Linked DNA regions of Homo sapiens: region 1 is linked to region 2. Evidence: promoter capture Hi-C in 16 types of primary human blood cells and fetal thymus (Javierre and others, 2016). All regions are on one chromosome and are shown on one strand. Each heading gives the region's core, a stretch centred on a gene start or on the middle of the fragment in contact. The rest is flanking DNA. Distances are from core to core; before and after follow the strand shown. Region 1 overlaps CENPO (centromere protein O). Region 2 holds the start of SF3B6 (splicing factor 3b subunit 6).

The links. Contacts are between HindIII fragments. The CHiCAGO score rates a contact against its expected background, and 5 or more counts as called.
Region 1: a contact is called between a fragment that was not itself captured here and the fragment with the promoter of SF3B6 in region 2, in 4 of 17 cell types (neutrophils, naive CD4 T cells, non-activated CD4 T cells and 1 more). The highest score is 10.3, in neutrophils.

Annotation. Positions count from the first base shown.
Region 1 is chr2:24,794,884-24,801,824 of GRCh38, forward strand. It overlaps CENPO (centromere protein O), which reads left to right. Exons shown (of 8, transcript NM_001322101.2): 3 at 4,792-4,961. Among named protein-coding and RNA genes, the nearest start is that of CENPO, 4.9 kb to the left of the region's middle. The HindIII fragment of the contact is 3,129 bases long and covers 1-3,107 here.
Region 2 is chr2:24,071,388-24,077,670 of GRCh38, forward strand. It overlaps SF3B6 (splicing factor 3b subunit 6), which reads right to left and starts at 4,939. Exons shown (of 4, transcript NM_016047.4): 1 at 4,813-4,939; 2 at 2,689-2,807. The coding sequence starts at 4,842. TP53I3 (tumor protein p53 inducible protein 3) reads right to left here. Exons shown (of 5, transcript NM_004881.5): 5 at 6,046-6,283. The coding sequence ends at 6,192. It also overlaps a transcript of FAM228B not described here. RefSeq lists enhancers at 4,225-4,757, 4,758-5,289, 4,824-5,053 and a silencer at 5,164-5,813. The HindIII fragment of the contact is 6,266 bases long and covers 1,606-6,283 here.

The DNA of each region.
Region 1 (6,941 bases), core at 293-2,792, 720 kb after region 2:
AAATTACAGTTTTAAAAAGAATTTCTGAGCGCGTCAGTGAATTTGGTTATCCTATTTTTCTCTGGGTCATCATTATCATTGATAACAGAGAAGTAACTATATTCAGCCTAAGATGACTTAAGCTGAGACTTTAGATAATAAAAGTATATGGGGTAAGATTTATTGTTACTTTAAGACTAAAAATAAGTTTGGTGACTTTATGTAGTGGAAACATGCTACACTCAGGAGTAACCTGTTCTCTAGTCCAGGCCTTATTTCATTTCTGTTAAAGTAAGTGATGAGGTGGAAGTTTTGGATTATCAAGAGACTTAGACCAGTCTCCTTATTCTCTACCCAAAACAATATTTAAACACTTAGCTGTTACCCATACTGGTTTTATCCCTCTGCTTGTTTGATTTCAGTTTTTTGCTTATTATTTGAATTCTCCCCACTCATTTGAGAAGGAAGGACATGGAGTTGTAGTTGCAACCAGATGATTTATTCAAATAGGCAGGGATTTTGACTTTTTTTGGGACAAAGCTGACTGGCTAGGATGAGATGCAATCATAACTTCCAAGGTAAAGCAGGCCCAGCAGATACACTCCCTCTTTTCTGTAGTAGCAACGCTAAACAACAACGCTACCCCCTTGGTGTAGAGGGAATCAGGTCGGTAAAGAAGCTGGGCAGGTTTGAGAGCCTGAGAAGAGGGCTGTGTGGAAGTGCCTAGAGAAGGAGCAGCATGATACTGTTTTGAACACCTACTTATCTCAGAAACTTTGGGAATATTGATATCTACTGTTTTAGTAATATAGAATTTCCATAAAGTAGAATTTGGTGAGGCGTCTCCTCTACCACCCTAAATTATTCTATGTGTGCGTGCTTTTCAGATCACCTCCTGGTTGGACATTAATTTTTGTAAGCTCCGTGAGGACAGGGACTTCGTTTTGCCACCACAGTATGAATAACTTCCAGCACGGTCCTTGGTCCATAGTAAATTCTCAATGCATAGTTGTTGGATAAATAGAGATTGGTGAATAAAGCAGTTAATCACGTGCTAATTATTAGGACTAATTTATTTAATTAGAATTTTGGTTTCTCACGATTATTATTGCGGTAATGTGGGTTTTTCTGTGGACATGAGCCAAGTGAATGTAATCTCCAAGAGTGTCATGCCTGGTTGTCCGTGTTTCGGTAAACATTTCCGGAGTGTTGGCCGGGCGCGGTGGCTCACACCTGTAATCCCAGCACTTTGGGAGGCCAAAGCGGGTGGATCACAAGGTCAGGAGTTCAAGACCAGTCTGGCTAACATAGTGAAACCCCATCTCTACTAAAAATACAAAAATTAGCCGGGCATCGTGGTGCATGCCTGTAGTCCCAGCTAATTGGGAGGCTGAAGCAGGAGAATTGCTTGAACCTGGGAGGTAGAGGTTGCAGTGAGCTGAGATCGCGCCACTGCACTCCAGCTTGGGCAACAGAGTGAGATTTCGTCTCAGAAAAAAATAACCATTTCCGGAGTGTTTACCATGTGTAAACACTTTGTGCTAGGGTTAAGGGATCCATGGGTGAACACAAATGCACACGGTCCCTGATTTTGGAACTTTAAGGTTCAGTGGAAAAGATAAGCAAATCAAATAATCACACTAATGAATATACAATTAAAACTATAGTGGCCGGGTGCGGTGGCTCACGCCTGTAATCCTAGCACTTTGGGAAGCCGAGGTGGGAGGATCGCTTGAGCTTAGGAGTTTGAGACCAGCCTGGGAAACATAGTGAGACCCCATCTCTTTATTTAAAAAACAAAAACAAAAAAACTATAGTATTGTCTCAGAAGGATCTTTGAGAGCTTATGAGCTGGCACCTGACCTTGTTCTGAAGGTGCTACAAAGGTTTCCCTGAGGAAATGCTGCTTGCATTGAGTGCTAACGAGCTAGAGTAGCTGCAGGTGAAGGTGGATAAGGGGCGGCTGTGGAAGAGCCTTTGGTGTGTGTGTTGGGGGTGGGGGGATCAGGTCAGTAAAGACGCTGGGCGGGTTTGAGAGCCTGAGAGGAGGCCTGTGTGGAAATGCCTAGAGAAGGAGCAGCATGATACTGATGAGGGTAAGAGAGATCCAGAGGCCAGTAGGCCTCGTAGGCAGTGTGAAGTCATCGAAAGGCTTTAGCCAGCTGGATGACACGATCCAGTTTAGATTTTGAAATATGGCTTCAGTGTATGGGCCACCTAGGAAACTTGTAATAGGCCAGAAATGGTAGTAGCTTGAACTACAATGGTGGCATTGCAGATGGGGAAAATGGAAATATTTTAGAGATACTAGGAATGTATATTCAATAGGATCTGGTAATGGATTGGGACTGGGTCAGGGAGAAGGTGTGAGGAAGAAAGTACTGGTTTACACAGCTATAGATGGATAATGGTTCCAGTCATGGAGGGGTTTAGAAGGGGAGATGATGAATTCAGTCTTGGACATGTTGATTGTCAGGTTCCTGTAAGTCTTCCAAGTAGATACACTGAGAAGGCAGGTGGATATTCTGCTTTCTCAAGAAGCAGGAGAGAGGTATAAGCTAGAGATACATATTTGTGTGGCATCGACATGTATGGCCATTAAGGCTGTGGGTACTGATGAGATTTCTTCTGGAAAGAAGAGGTCTTAGGACTGAGCTCTGGAAAATTTCAGCATTTAATGGTCAAGGAGGAGAGTAGGAGCCTTCAAAGCAGAAAGTGGGGTCAGAGAGGTAAAATGTAAGTGTCACAAAAACAGGTTGTCTGTTGTTCATCACTATGTTCCCAGTGCCTGAAATAGTACTTGGCACAAAATAGATGCTTAATAAACATCTGTTGAACAAGGCATACCAACAGGCCGCTATGCTAAGATTCAGAGGAAAAGAGGGTTTCGTGAAGGTGGTGATCAGTAGGAGCATATAGTGCTGGGAGGTGAGATAAGGGAGCTTGAAAAATGTCCTTTGGGTTCAGCAACATGGATATCACTGTTGATCTTAGAGTGGTTTTGTAAAATAATGGGAACAGAAGTGAGTTTCAAGTGGGTTGAGGTATGAGTCACAGGCAAGAAAATGGAGAAAGTGAGTACAAGTTGAGCACTGAAGATCCAAAATCTGAAATACTCCAAAATCTGAAGCTTTTTGAGCACTGACATGATGGTCAAAGGAAATGCTTATTTCCAGTTTTGGATTTTCAGATATGGGATGTTCAGCCAGTAAGTGTAATGCAAATACTCCCAATTCCGAAATCTGAAACACCTCTAGTCCCAAAACGTTCGGATACTCAACTTGCATGGACAACTCTTTTAAGTAGTTTTCCTGGAAAGGAAAGGGGAGAAAAGGGAGATAGTAGCTGAAGGGGATTTGTGGGCAAGAATAGGCCTGTGAGTGTATGAAATTGTGTGTGTGTGTATGTGTGTGTATATATATATATATATATGAGTGTGTGTTTGAAGACAGTTGAGACTTGAGCGTGTGTGGAAGGGAAATGAACACAGCAGAGAAAAGGGTAACTGATCATTTAGGGTTTCTGAGAAAGCAAGGGGATAGGCCTCAATGAGTAAAATAGGATAATTCTGCATATAGTGCGTGTCTGTTTCTATTTGATCTCACACAAATTTTTTTTTTTTGAGACGGAGTCTGTCACCTAGGCTGGAGTGCAGTGGCACGATCTTGGCTCACTGCAAGCTCCGCCTCCTGGGTTCACGCCATTCTTCTGCCTCAGCCTCCTGAGTAGCTGGGACTACAGGTGCCCGCCACCACACCCGGCTAATTTTTTGTGTTTTTGGTAGAGACGGGGTTTCACTGTGTTAGCCAGGATGGTCTTGATGTCCCGACCTCGTGATCCACCCGCCTCGGCCTCCCAAAGTGCTGGGATTACAGGCGTGAGCCACCGTACCCGGCCCGATCTCACATACTTTTTTTTAATGGTTTTATTAGCCATAAAAACCATAAGAGGTTTCTAGTCTTAATTGGATAGGTGAATGAGATAAGTTTTTGGATTCCGTCCCAAGGCAAGGAGAGAAGATTAAGGTTTTCATATATGTTCATCCATATGAACCCTACAAAATAGATGCTGGGTGTACTTAAGAAGCTCGATTAAATAAAGTCTGGGGCTTCCTTTTTTTTTTTTTTTTTTTTTTTTTTTGGAGACAGTCTTGCTCTGTCCCCCAGGCTGGAGTGCAATGGCACTCCAATGGAGTGCAGTGATCTTGGCTCACTGCAACCTCCGCCTCCTGGATTCAAACAATTCTGCCTCAGCCTCCCGAGTAGCTGGGATTACAGGCATGCGCCACCATGCCCGGCTAATTTTTTGTATTTTTAGTAAAGATGGGGTTTTGCCATGTTGGCCAGGCTGGTCTCGAACTCCTGACCTCAGGTGATCCACCCGCCTTGGCCCCCCAGAGTGCTAAGATTACAAGTGTGAGCCACCGCCCTCGGCTGTGAGAGGGCTTCTCTCCGGCCTGTGGTAAAGCTAGAGAATCATCCTTTACACACTAGAGATGTGGATTTGCGATAAACTGCAGACCTAGATAAGACACTGCTGCCTAATCAGCGTGTGATAGTTCATATCCTCTCTCGGGCTGTCTTTGAGGAGGATCCTGTTTTACATCACTCTCCAACCTAGGAGGTTGATGATCTTTGATTTCAATTGTTAGCTCCCCTGGTTTTATAAATTGACAGATATCTAACAATTCAGCTGGCCACAAAGTTCTGGTAAAAAAAAAAAAAGAGTCACCTGTTCTTCCCTGAGATGCTTCCTGTTGCCACAGTGAGAAATCCTCAGCTTCTTGTAAAATTCTCCTTTTACTCTCCTTAGGTGTTTTAGCTCACTTGGAAAGGCTAGAGACCCAAGTGAGCAGATCCCGTAAACAGTCTGAAGAGCTGCAGAGCGTGCAGGCCCAGGAAGGTGCTCTTGGAACCAAGATTCATAAACTAAGGCGTCTGCGAGATGAGCTGAGGGCTGTGGTGCGGCACCGGCGAGCCAGCGTGAGTAGAAGGGTGGTATCAGCAGTTCCTTTAGAGTATAATGAACAAACGTGATTTGGGAATTGGTGAATTGGCCATTTTTTATAATGTGTTTTACTTGTGATCTTACTGGATTGATTGCAGTCCTTGATCCCTCAAATGATCAAACCTGTAGAGTTTGGCCAGGCACGGTGGCTCATGCCTGTAATCCCAGCACTTTGAAAGGCGAGGCAGGCCTATCGCCTGTGGTCAGGCGTTTGAGACCAGCCTGGCCAACATGGTGAAACCCCATCTCTACCAGAAATACAAAAATTAGCCAGGCATGGAGGCAGGCGCCTATAATCCCAGCTACTCAGGAGGCTGAGGCACGAATTGCACCTGGGAGGCGGAGGTTGCAGTGAGCTGAGATCGAGCCACTGCACTCCAGCCTGGGAAACAGAGTGAGACTCCGTCTCAAAAAAACAAAAATCCGGTAGAGTTACAGTGAATATCACCTAACATTTTTTAATTTTTTTATTATACTTTAAGTTTTAGGGTACATGCGCACAACGTGTAGGTTTGTTACATATGTATACATGTGCCATGTTGGTGTGCTGCGCCCATTAACTCTTCATTTAACATTAGGTGTATCTCCTAATGCTATCCCTCCCCCCTCCCCCCACCCCACAACAGGCCCCGGTGTGTGATGTTCCCCTTCCTGTGTCCATGTGTTCTCAGTGTTCAATTCCCACCTATGAGTGAGAACATGCGGTGTTTGGTTTTTTGTCCTTGCGATAGTTTGCTGAGAATGATGGTTTCCAGCTTCATCCATGTCCCCACAAAGGATGTGAACTCATCCTTTTTTATGGCTGCGTAATATTCCATGGTGTATATGTGCCACATTTTCTTAATCCAGTCTATCATTGTAGGACATTTGGGTTGGTTCCAAGTCTTTGCTATTGTGAATAGTGCCGCAGTAAACATACATGTGCATGTGTCTTTATAGCAGCATGTTTTATAATCCTTTGGATATATACCCAGTAATGGGATGGCTGGGTCAAATGGTATTTCTAGTTCTAGATCCCTGAGGAATCGCCACACTGACTTCCACAATGGTGGAACTAGTTTACAGTCCCACCAACAGTGTAAAAGTGTTCCTATTTCTCCACAGCCTCTCCAGCACCTGTTGTTTCCTGACTTTTTAATGATCGCCATTCTAACTGGTATGAGATGGTATCTCATTGTGGCTTTGATTTGCATGTCTCTGATGGCCAGTGATGATGAGCATTTTTTCATGTGTCTTTTGGCTGCAGAAATGTCTTCTTTTGAGAAGTGTCTGTTCATGTCCTTTGCCCACTTTTTGATGGGGTTGTTTGTTTTTTTCTTGTACATTTGTTTGAGTTCATTGTAGATTCTGGATATTAGCCCTTTGTCAGATGAGTAGATTGGAAAAATTTTCTCCCATTCTGTAGGTTGCCTGTTCACTCTGATGGTAGTTTCTTTTGCTGTGCAGAAGCTCTTTAGTTTAATTAGATCCCGTTTGTCAATTTTGGCTTTTGTTGCCATTGCTTTTGGTGTTTTAGACATGAAGTCCTTGCCCATGCCTATGTCCTGAATGGTATTGCCTAGGTTTTCTTCTAGGATTTGTATGGTTTTAGGTCTAACTTTTAAGTCTTTAATCCATCTTGAATTAATTTTTGTATAAGGTGTAAGGAAGGGATCCAGTTTCAGCTTTCTACATATGGCTAGCCAGTTTTCCCAGCACCATTTATTAAATAGGGAATCCTTCCCCATTTCTTGTTTTTGTCAGGTTTGTCAAAGATCAGATAGTTGTAGATATGTGGCATTATTTCTGAGGCTTCTGTTCTGTTCCATTGGTCTATATCTCTGTTTTGGTACCAGTACCATGCTGTTTTGGTTACTGTAGCCTTGTAGTATAGTTTGAAGTCAGGTAGGGTGATGCCTCCAGCTTTGTTCTTTTGGCATGGGATTGTCTTGGCAATGGGGGCTCTTTTTTGGTTC
Region 2 (6,283 bases), core at 3,689-6,188:
TGAGGTCAGGAGTTCAAGACCAGCCTGGCCAACGTGGTGAAACCCCATCTCTACTAAAAATACAAAAATTAGCCAGGCATGCTGGTGGGTGCCTGTAATCTCAGCAACTCAGGAGGCTGAGGCTGGAGAACCACTTGAACCTGGGAGGCGGAGTTTGCAGTGAGCCGAGATCGTGCCATTGCACTCCAGCCTGGGCAACAAGAGCGAAACTCCATCTTAAAAAAAGAAATGTTTCATACAAGAAGTAGAAAGCTGTAACAGATAGGGAAACAGGGAGCTACTTCAGCTAGGGTGGTCAGGGAAAACCCCTCTGAAAAGGTGACACTGAAGCTGAGACCTGAAGAATGAGGAGGAGCCAGGCATGAGATGAGCTGGTGAAAACCATTCCAGATACAAGGAAAATAGAAGCACAAAGGTTCTGAGCTGCTCTGCACTCTTCTGAAGATGCCCCTGCTTTATTCCCTGTCCTTTCATTTTGGCTTTCTGAAACATTCTCTAACTTCACTGATTTTAAGCATCCCTTAATTGAGTACTATCAATAAATTTTATAATGCCCTAGTAAACCAATCACAACCACTTTTTATATTATTCTTCTATTTTCTTTTCTTTTGTTGAAACAGGATCTCACTCTGTCGCCCAGACTGGAGTGCAGTGGCATGATCTCGGCTCACTCACTGCAGCCTCAGCCTCCCAGGTTCAAGCGATTCTCCCACTTGAGCCTCCTGAGTAATTGCATTACAGGCGCGTGCCACCATGCCCAGCTAATTTTTGTATTTTTTTTTAGAGAGGGGGTTTCACCATTTGGCCAGGGTGGTCTCGAACTCCTAACCTCTGGTGATCTGCCTGTCTCGGCCTCCCAAAGTGCCGGGATTACAGGTGTGAGCCACCACATCTGGCCTATTCTACTATTTTCTATATTATTCATTTAGTATACATCGGGTGCTTACCATGTATCGCACAAGTGCTATCAACACAAAAACAAAAATAATATATGGTACGAGCCCTGGAGGAACTCACAACCTGCCCAGGGTGACAGATGAATATAGAGACAACAGCAAAACCATGTGTTAACCTAGGAGAGACACATGGAAATGCTATGGGAGCAGAAGAGTGGCTAATGTACACTGGGAAGGAAAACTGATAAAGTACCTTCACAGACACTGTGTAATTTCATCCAAATTAAAATTCTTTTAAGACAGTAGGTTAGGAAGACTGTATTTCATAGATAATTGAAACCCAGATAAGGTTAAATATTTTCTCCAGTTTCGTAAGAGTAGGCAAGCCAGTATTTGAACCCAGGCCTTACAACCAATCTATGCTGTTTCCACATTAAAAGCTAAAAGGCCACCACCCAGATTATCTCATACATGAAGAGAAAACCAAAAAAGCTAGGCAACTAGTCACACACATGGCTAGTAACAAGGCCTGAAGTAGAATCTTGTCTCCTGATCCCCAAGGCAGGGATTCGCCATGTTGGCCAGGCAGGTCTTGAACTCCTGGCCTTGTATACCATTCTGTATCTAGAGCAGGGTTTCTTGACCTAGAGTCCATGTATCCCCTGAAATATATGCAACATGAGTGTATTCTTCTGTGGAAGGAGTCTAAAGCTTTTATCAGATGCTCAAAGGACTGAGACCTCCTAAAAAGGACAGCTGGTCTATAACACTTTCACTTTCATCCCCATCTGAGTACCAATGATCATGTATTTCCAGCTCTTGGTTTACTCTCTGGAGGGACAGTGTCATTCAAAAGGAGGGTCCTCAAGACCTCATAGTCCTAAAGCCAGGAAGGAGCTCTCAAGTCATACAAGACGGAATTCCGACTAGAAATAAAAACTTTATACGTAGTCATTACTGTGGTAAAATAATAATTTTTTTAAAATAAAAACTTTAGAAATCCTTTCAGATGGACTCTTAAGTCACTAGCCCTTTCATATGAGTTCGGGTGTCAGAGGCTATGGTACTGTGTAATGTAGAGGTTCAATTTAGAGTCAGAAGATTTTACCACTAAGCACTGTAAGATAGAAAGGTACTTTACTCTCAGGGCTATAGTTTTGTTGATCCAAATAAAAGCACTTATTATGGTTAATGGTATTCAGTAGATGTCCAGTAAATATCACTTGAAGGTATGAACCCCAATCTTTATATTAAATTAAAACGTGAATGCTTGTAATTAGATGTTTTCCTCTATACTTTTACATCTTCAATTGAAAGAGCTGTAGTTGAAAATATCATTTTTTTCTGTTACTTTTATACTCTTTTACTTAGTTTATTCAGAAATTCTGGGGTTATTTAAAGAGACAGTGATGATTGTTGAGAAAATTATAGAGCTGCTGCATACAAAAAACACAGTGTAACAAGCTAGCTTTACAAATAACAGGTATGCAATAAATGTTAGTTCTTTCCCTTCTCAACCAGTTTCCTCAAAGCATTCATTACTACTTCAATGAATGCTTTGAGGAAACTCAAATCCTCTTCTTGGCTCTCATTGAGCTGGATCATTAGGGTCTCAGTAGGTTTTCTCCCCCCTTCAAAAAGATCTCATCTCTCTGATCTCAATCTGCTAGTCTCAAGGCTCTTGGTAAGGGTTGTCGCACTGCACACAGCACAGGGTGGCCTCATCGTCAGCTATAATTCTGAAATTACAGATTATGCTATCATTTTCTTTAAATGACTCAGTAAGACTCACACTCTGATTTGACGAATAGGTCCATATTTCCCAAATATATCATACATTTCTTCAGCTGTGATTTTGTATGGCAAATTTCTTATATACAATATCCGATTTACTTCAGGTGGAAGTCGAATCTAAAATGAGAAATACGTATTGTTATTATAATTAGGGGCATTCTAAAAAATTATAATTTAAATGCCCCTATAATTAGGGGCATTTTAAAAAATTCTTAATGATACGTAATAATAAAAAGCCAAGAATAAGAGGTATAATTTGATGTTTCTGAAAATGGGCAGATCTTTGAAAAAGCAACAGAGGCTGGGTGCAGTGGCTGGTCCCTATAATCCCAGCACTTTGGGAGGCAAAGTGGGAGGATCACTTGAGCCCAGGAGTTTGAGACCAGCCTGGACAACATAGTGAGACCCCCATCTCTACAAAAATTTTAAAAAATTAGCCAGGCATGGTGGTGGGTGTAGGCCTTTGCAAACCTTACCACCATCACTCCTGCTAACACCTGAGTTGGGCTGTACCCTCTTCCCTGCCCATCCCAGGAGATGACCCTGATTCTTGTTTCTTGGAGAAAATAGACATGACCAATTGAAATACTTTTCATCTATATCCAACTACTTTCCCTCTATTACTACGCCAACCTTCATCTACTCAAAACCTTCACTTCTAAACTCAACCTATCTTTCTTCCATATCATGTTTCGCACACTCTGCTGGATTGCTCCCATTGGCATAAAGATACACCTATATCACACATCTTTTAAAAAGTCAACTATCTGGCCGGGTGCGGTGGCTCATGCCTGTAATCCCAGCGTTTTGGGAGGCCAAGGCAGGTGGATCACTTGAGGTCAGGAGTTTGAGACCAGCCTGGCCAACACGGAGAAACCCTGTCTCTACTAAAAATACAAAAATTAGCCGGGCATGGTGGTGGGCACCTGTAATCCCAGCTACTCAAGAGGCTGAGGCAGGAGAATTGCTTGAACTCAGGAGACAGAGGTTGCAGTGAGCCAAGACTGTGCCACTGCACTCCAGCCTGGGTGACAGAGTGAGAGTCCATCTCAAAAAAAAAAGTCAACTATCATCCAATTTCCCTACTTCCTATTTAAATGAGAACTCATGGACAGAGTGTCTTTGCTGTTTCCATTTTCTCAACTTCCACCATCTTTTCACCCCACTGCAATCAAGTTTTCATCCACTGAAATGATTCCTATCATCAAGGTCACCAAAAGTCTCCATTTACATATACAATGGTCAATTGCTTGTCTTTTCTTTCTTTCTTTCTTTCTTTCTGTTTTTTTTTTTTTTTTTGAGTCAGGGTCTTGCTCTGTCTCCTGGGCTGAAGTGCTGCGCAGTGGCACAATCATGGCTCAAGGCAGCCTTGAATTCCTGGGCTCAAGCAATCCTCCCACCTCAGCCTCCAAAAGTGCGGGGATTACAGGCATGAGCCACCTCACTCGGCCTAACTTCATCTTACACCTCTAAGCGTTTTACTGTTGACTAATCTCTTTTTTGAGTTTTTTTTTTTTAAAAGTTTCCGTAACACTGTACTCTCAAACACTAGAATGTAAGCAGAAGGACTTGTTTTATTCACTGCTGTATTCCCAATACGTAAGACTAGTGTCTGGCACATAGTAGCTATTCAATAAATATAATTGATGAATTATGTCCCACATGGCAAGCAGAATACATAGTAGGTGCTCAAAAAATATTGTTTTAATTAATGTGTTAATGAAGGATCCGAAAAGCACCATGATCTGAGGGGAATCCCAGGTCCTAGTTGTTGGTGAACCATTAAGTTAGTTGAGGACTCTTCTGAGATATCGACTTTAAGTCAAGGAGATAATCCTAACGCCAGGTCCTTAGGTGCGGGTCAAGCAAAGAGGCTATAGGGGTAACACTATCACTGACACTAGGGTAGAGACTGAGGAACTCTCAAAAGGGGTGGGGACAGAAATGTGGCTCAAGGAGCATATCTCTGAGGATGGGGCCGGATAGTGTCTTCGCTGACAGGATAGGAATTCTGGAGTTCTCCGCTCTGGGGACGGAGGAGGAGCAAGAATGCTCCGATCCACGCCGCTAAGAAAGTCAAACCCGAAGTTCTCCCACCCTCCGCAGAACACCCGATACTCACGTTCGCCCTCTTGGCCGCTTGCATCGCCATCTTGGCGGGCTGATGAAGTTACCGTAGCAGATACTGAAATTCCTCCGGAGCTCGCTCGGCTTCGGGGGTTACACCGCGTTAGATGCAGGACATCAACATCCAGGACCCGCCGGAAGCTGTTACAGCGGAATAGCGCCGTCTTACGCTGAGACGCGCTGACGTAGCAGCCCCCTTCGAATAGACTCCGGGGTAAAACCGAGCCTGAGCGAGACTCGAGGCCGGAAGATGGAAAGGCGAGAGTCCAAGACACTTCCGGGCTCTGTACCGTAAAGGGCGGGGCGTAGCCTCCAAAAGGCGAGATGTTCCGGTCGGGGAGGCCCTGAGCAGAGGAACCCGGGTGGAGAGGGCGGGGCCTGAGGAGGGCGGAGAGCTGGGGCGGGTCTCAGGTGAGTAACTGGGGAGCGGAGGAGGCGGGGCTTGAGCAGGGTTATGACAGGTAGGGCGGGACCCAGGTGAGTAGCGGGAGGGGGCGGGGCCTGAGGAGGGTGCGGAGAGCTGGGGTGGGGCCCAAGTGAGTATCCGGGAGGGAGCCGGGCCTGAGCAAGGCGGTGAGCTGGGGCGGGACCCAAGTGAGTAATGGAAGGGGCGGGGCCTGAGGAGGGTGGTGGCGGTGGGGCGGGGCCCAGATGTGTAGCGGGAGGTGGTGGGGCCTGAGGAGGGTGGCGAGAGGTGGGGTGGGGCCCAGGTGAGTAGCGGGCGAAGGCGGGGCCTGAGGAGGACTGAGCTGGGGCGGGACCCAGGTGAGTAGCGGAAGGGATCGGGGCCTGAGGAGGGTGGTGGAGGTGCGGCGGGGCCCAGAAGTGTAGCAGGAGGTGGTTGGGGCTGAGGAAAGTGGTGGAGGTGGGGCGGGGCTCAGATGTGTAGCGGGAGGTGGTGGGGCCTGAGGAGGGCGGCGAGAGGTGGGGTGGGGCCCAGGTGAGTAGCGGGCAGGGCTGGGGCCTGCTGTGGTGCCCACTGGTTGCGGGGCGCGCGGGCAGGTGCCGGAGGTGGTGGGCCTGGGCCTCTAGCTGTGCGCAAGGCGGAATATGTGGGGTTCTGGCGGCTTGTGTCACGGCTGACGCTGTAACTATACCCAGAATCTCCGTCCCTGGAGGGGCCCTCAGGTTGAGCGTCAGCTGATCGGGCCTCAGTAATCCCCGCTGCGACGCCCGTCCGGACTCCCACCTCAACCCCGCCGCGGCGGCCCCAGTCCGCGTGCCACCCTTCCAGTTCACTCTTTATTTCCTCATATCAGCTTTAAACGGCTCTGGAGGAAGCACCGGGTTTCTTGGCCTGTCTATTGTGAATCTTCTCCAGGTTTGCTCTGGAAAGGCCTGGGGTGGCCGCGTCCTGTCCTGCCCCATCCTCCTTCACTGGGGCAGTTCCAGGACGATCTTGCCTATGTTCTTGTTGGCCTCCATGTACTTATGGGCCTCCTGGATTTCGGTCACTGGGTAGATTC